Regions from separate parts of the Homo sapiens genome. Here region 1 is linked to region 2. The links are contacts of gene promoters, found by promoter capture Hi-C in human tissues and cell types (Jung and others, 2019). All regions are on one chromosome and are shown on one strand. The core of a region is centred on a gene start or on the middle of the fragment in contact, and the rest is flanking DNA. Distances in the headings are between cores, read along the strand shown.

Region 1 (2,700 bases), core at 182-2,681, 41 kb after region 2:
TCCCCAGAATGGACGAGAAACCCAAGAGCCAAATCCTGGCTTCCTGACCCAGGGATGAAGCCCTAGCAGCCCTTCCTTGGCCCAGGTCCTCTTTCCTGTACCTTTGTTCTGCTCCCTGCTGTTAACAATGATTCACAGATCAAAGGATGTCCCCAGCAGGGATCCTTAACCATGAATTTGCTTCAGGGTCCAGAACTCTTGGAAATTACAATATAAAAAAACCTTGTGTATATATTTGCATTTTTCTGGAAATAGAATTCTCAGGGATTCCTAACCTCTGTGGGTAGATTTGAGGTGGGAGAGGGATTATGTGGGGTTTCTTCTGTGTGGACTAAAATTCTCTTAGAATTGAGATAGCAGTGTACAAGTTCAGTAGAAAAAGTCTGGTCCCAACCACAAAAAGAAGTGAAACAGAGATGAAGAGCCCACCTCTTACCTAGGGGAGAATTCCTGGGGAAAGGCAGATCTTCTGCTCATATTTTGTAGAATCATTCATGGTCTCTTCATGCTCTGCTCACTCACTCATTCATTTCATCAATCAGCATTTATTATATACCTACTGTGTGCCTTGCTTTACACTAAGTCATACTGGCTATACAAACATCAGTTCTTTAAAGTGTGGTCCTGCTTTAAAGCGTGCTTGTTAAAAATACAGGTTCCTGGACCTCAACCATGGAGGGCATTGCCTGGGACTCTGCATTTTAAACAGGCTCCTTCGGCTCATTAAATTAGGTTGACAGCCATTGATAGAGACTGGCATCTCCTCCCAGGCACAGCCTTTGGCATTGGTATGCAGCAAAGTGCCCGCATCATGGTTGCCTCCAAGACTGTTGGTTGGACCAAGATCACGGTTCTGACCCTTCTGCAGGAGAGGTTAGTTCCCTCCCTCCCTCTGCCCTGGCTCCCCCTGCCTCTCTTGAATGCTGGGCCCTGTGAGGGGGGAGGGAGCGGAGGGGTCGCTGGCTGTCCCCTCTACTGCAGCTGTGCTGGGGGCACAGTCTTGGGCAGATTGTGAACCCCAAGAGCAGAGAGGCTGTCCCAGCATGCGCTGCTCCATCCTGACTGGGCGAAGATCTGAGAGTACCAATTAATGTTAACGAGGCTCCCTCTGCCTAGGCCTGTCTTAAGGCTTGGCTAATTAACACTTCTATGGTCCCTTGGGTCCCTAGAATGAGAGGTTTGCGGAGACCTGCAGGAAGTGACTGGTTTCAACCAAAAGGATCTTTCTACCTGTAGTAAGCATCGGGAGGCTGAGACCTGGAATGATAGTGGCTTGGGAACTGGAACCTGGAACAGCAGTAGCTGGTGTTTCTTGATCAACCCGCGTGCTTTACATCCAGCACCCCACTTAATACCCACTTGTGCTCCAGCAGCTAGGATTACTATTTCCCTCCTTTCACAGAGGAGGAAAGTGAGGCCTGGGGTTTGGAGCAAGGTCACACAGCTAGTGTGGCAGAACTAGGGGCACACCCAGGCCATCTGGCTCCAAAGTCTGAGCTCCTGCTCCCGCTCTCTAGAGCCTTCTATGGCCACACAGCCCAGGGTCCCCCTTGTCTTGGCTTCATGCCCAGGCCTGGGCATTTTCTTCTCCATTGGGCCCGCAGAGTTGCTGGCAGCGGGAGACAACCGCAAGCCTGCAGCCCCGGACTCCTTCTTCCCACTGTGCCTTTGGACCTGGTCATGGACTTCCCGTTCCCAGAGAGGATGAGGCAATGGGGAGATGGGGCAGGGCAGGGCGGGGCAGGGACAGACCCTTCCCTTCTCCAGGGTCAGCAGCCTTGGGGAGAACCTACACCCTGTGTCCTCCTAGACAGTGCTGGCCTCCTTCTCTGCTGTGGACTCCTCTTACCTCTGAGGAGGGGATGGAGGTGGGCAGGGCGTGTGTGCAGCTGGCAGGGACATTATAAACACATGGTCAGGATCTTGCCCCCTGGAACCTGTCTCCAGCATGACTGTGGGGCAGCTTTGAGCAAACTTCAGATTTCTAGGAACTGGTGGGCCTCTGGTCATTTCATGGTTATCAGTCAGCCTTTCCCAACTTCTGTCTTGCTTACAGATGGGCAAATGGGTCACGTAGTGAGGACTGTGGAATCAGTCCCAAGTCTGAATTGTGGCTCTGTCACATTCTAGCTGTGTGGCCTTGGACTTAAACCTCTAAGATGTAAAGCTTCAGTTTTTTGTCAGTAAAATGGCTGTAATGATTCCCATCTTGTTGGGTTGTTGTGGGACTTTAGAAAAGTACTATATTCAACGCCCTGGGCTGCCCACCCTACTGCTCTGTCTCCTGGTCAAGGCCAGACATTCTGCTTCGGTTGGACCTGTAGCAGAGCAGCCGGGCAGAGAGAAAAGACCACGTGGCCAGAGGCCTCGGCTGCACAGGAAGAGGCATCTAATAACTGTTGTATAAATGGTAGCTATTTTTCATATGTGCTGGGGCCATTGGCAATACTGCCTCTTATTTATTTATTTTAGAGACAGGGTCTTGCTCTGTTTCCCAGGCTGGAGTGCAGGGGCATGATCATTGCTCACTGTAACCTCACCTCAAAATTCTGGGTGCAGTGATCTTCCCACCCTGGTCTCCCAAAACGTTGAAATTATAGGCATGAGCCACCACATCCAGCCAAGCCTCGTATTTCTTAACTAGAGACAATGGAGGCTGATTTGGGCTGACGCGTTGAGACCCCAGTGAGAGGGCACTGA
Region 2 (2,700 bases), core at 55-2,554:
CTGGGCACTCCAGGTCCCCTCCCTCCGGGCACTCACTGACGCTTGTTTTCAGGCTGGGTAGGCCTCAGGCCTGCTCTGCTTCTTGGGGTGGGTCTGGAGCATTGCCTCCTCCCTACTCTCCCAGAAAGGAGACCAGGTAACAACATTCCCATCAACAGCCCCGAAATCCTAAAGAAAGATCACTGGGTCCTGCCCACTTTGAGAGTAAGTTGCTAGGTTAGAAATGGCCAGGTCAGGTACCGCTTTCTTCACTTGTTCTTTGCTCAGGCCCTGTGACCTCCAGAAGGCCCACCCTAACAGGAAGCCCCAAGCCAAGCCCAACCTGGCTGCCTGGCAGCTCCTGCCTTAGCCCAGCTGTGGAAGGAGGAACAGCAAGGTGAATGGAGGGGCTGGGTTCCCTCCATGCCCACCTCTCATTCATTCATTCAGGGAAGCCTGACTCCCGGCAAAGCATTTGCATCTCCTAGGTTTCCACCCCTTAGGGAAGGAAGGCATGGGACATGGAACCCAGAGGATGTGTCTGTCACCATCCCTTCTCAAACACATGGGGGCATGGCCCCTGCCCCAGGGGCACCTCTGTAATTGCCCCACCTCAGCCACTTCTCCTAAGCCCCCCAACCACCTAAATGTCCGCTTTGCCTCCATTTCACACATATGCCCGGACACCAGCACACAGCATGTGGACATACACATTTCCCTCACTTATGCACTCCCAGGTCCACACCCCTGGCTGAGTGAGTGAACCACCCATCCCTGCAACCTCCTGAGACTATGACAGTTCAGTACACCCACGTCCCATACAACTGCCACTCCCCAGACCGGGGGCTTCGAAGCCCTCCCGCCCTTCACCAGCCCCCACCCTCATTCTTTTCCAGGGTTTCTTATCCCAGATCCCCTCCCTTTAGTCCCCAAATACTGACCGGCACCCACCCCAGGACAACCCGCTATCCACACCGCCCTCTCCTGGCCGCTGGGAAACAAGCCCCCCTCCCTAACCAGAACGTTGTCCCTCTCCTTCACCCCTGCCCACGCGCAGTGACACCTGTCAGAGCTCATTCCCTCCGCCCCTCACCTGTGTGCATGGACTCCAGATTCACCATCCTGCCCCAGGCGGGGCCAAAGCCAGCGCCCCCCCAGGCCCCTCGCCTCTGCCCCAGCCGGGGCCCCTGCGAAGCCAGGGTCTCCTTCCTCCAGTTCCCGGCCGCCGCCGCCGCGGGAGCCGCTGCCGGAGCCGTCGCCGCCACTGTCGCGCGCTCCGCTGCTCCGGCCCGGGCAACACTCGGCGCCGCCAGGATTGCCACACTCCCCAGGTGAGCACGCGGCGCGGGGCGGGGGCCGCCGGCCACGCCCCCTGGCAGGAGCCCCGCGCCTGGCCCCAGGCCCATGCAAAGCAGTGATTTGCATACATGGAGCTGGGGACCTGGGGAGGGGGCCGGGGGTGCTGCCGGGGCGGGTCTCGATCCCGCGGAACACCTGCCTGCTCCAACCCAGCCTGGCAGCACCTCCTCACCGCGCCCGGAGTGGCGCCAACTCCTGGTCCTGCTCGCCCTTTTTAGGAAGCCCTGGCGGGTTCTCCAGCCTGAGCCCGAGCTTCCTTCTGGACAGATCGCGAAGTGTAAGCGCTGCAAGGAGTTGGAGTGTTTGGAGAAGTCGCGGGGGTCTGCTGGAAAGAATTCAGTTTTGGAATCTCGCCTCCCAACCGCTTACCAGCAGTGTGGCTGGGACAAGGTTCTTCACCTCCCTGAGCTCATTTAACTCACCTGTAAAACAGGACAGGTGCTAATCGGGTTCCCTATTGGGCTGAGCAGGTGACCAAGCTCACCTAGCCCCCATGGCATCCTCACAGCATTGTGGGATTTAGACGGGGTGCAGTTTATTATTAGCAGAGTTTCCAGGTGCACACAACTGCTTCCTGCTTGCCCCTCCAGTCTCCCGCCCCAGGTCCCAGGTTGCTGTGAGGCTCTACGAGATGATGGATGTGGAAGTTACCAGTGCCCAGGCTTTTGGTGACAGCCACCTTCCAGAGCGGGGAAGCGGCTTGCTCAAAGGTGCACACTTCCCTAGTGACAGAGCCTGGCTGGAATCAGGTCTCTGGACTCCCACTCCAGTGCTCTTTGCAGCACCCATCATAGGCTCACCCCTTTCTCTTCGTCTCTTCAAGTCCCAGTAAGTGGTCTGTCACCACAGGATGGCCTGCATGGAAGCCCAGAAAGCTGTGTGCAGACAGGAGGGCAGGGCCTCGCTTTCCTTCCCAGACAGGACTCCTCATGAACATGTCTTCTCCTTAGTCCCATGGGCTACTTTCTGAGCACAGAACAGGTTTTGGGCTTTCCTGCCTCTACACCTTGTTTACAGTGTCCTTTCCCCCTGGCACGCCCATCCCACCGTGCACTCCAGTCATGCCCACGATAACACCCAGCATTTCGTGTGCCTTCACTGTGTATCAAGCACTGGGGTGACCAACACTTGAAAGGCATCTTTCGTGCCTTTAGTTCTTGTTTAGTCCTCAAAACCTGTACATTGTACTATGATTATTGCCATTTTATAGATGGGGAAAATGAGGCTTAGAGAGTTTAAGTTCCGTGTTCTTTTTTTTTTTTTTTTTTTTTTTTTTTTAGACAGAGTCTTGCTCTGTTGCCAGGCTGGAGTGCAGTGGTGCAATCTCGGCTCACTGCAACCTCCACCTCCTGGGTTCAAGCG

The links. Contacts are between HindIII fragments. The study calls those that stand out against the background at their distance.
Region 1: a fragment that was not itself captured here is called in contact with the fragment with the promoter of POU2F3 in region 2 in 1 of the 25 tissues and cell types used here (liver).

The regions. Positions count from the first base shown.
Region 1 is chr11:120,198,252-120,200,951 of GRCh38, reverse strand. No RefSeq gene overlaps it. Among named protein-coding and RNA genes, the nearest start is that of OAF, 11 kb to the left of the region's middle. The HindIII fragment of the contact is 8,075 bases long and covers 1-2,700 here.
Region 2 is chr11:120,238,744-120,241,443 of GRCh38, reverse strand. It overlaps POU2F3 (POU class 2 homeobox 3), which reads right to left and starts at 1,304. Exons shown (of 13, transcript NM_014352.4): 1 at 1,073-1,304. The coding sequence starts at 1,100. The HindIII fragment of the contact is 19,243 bases long and covers 1-2,700 here.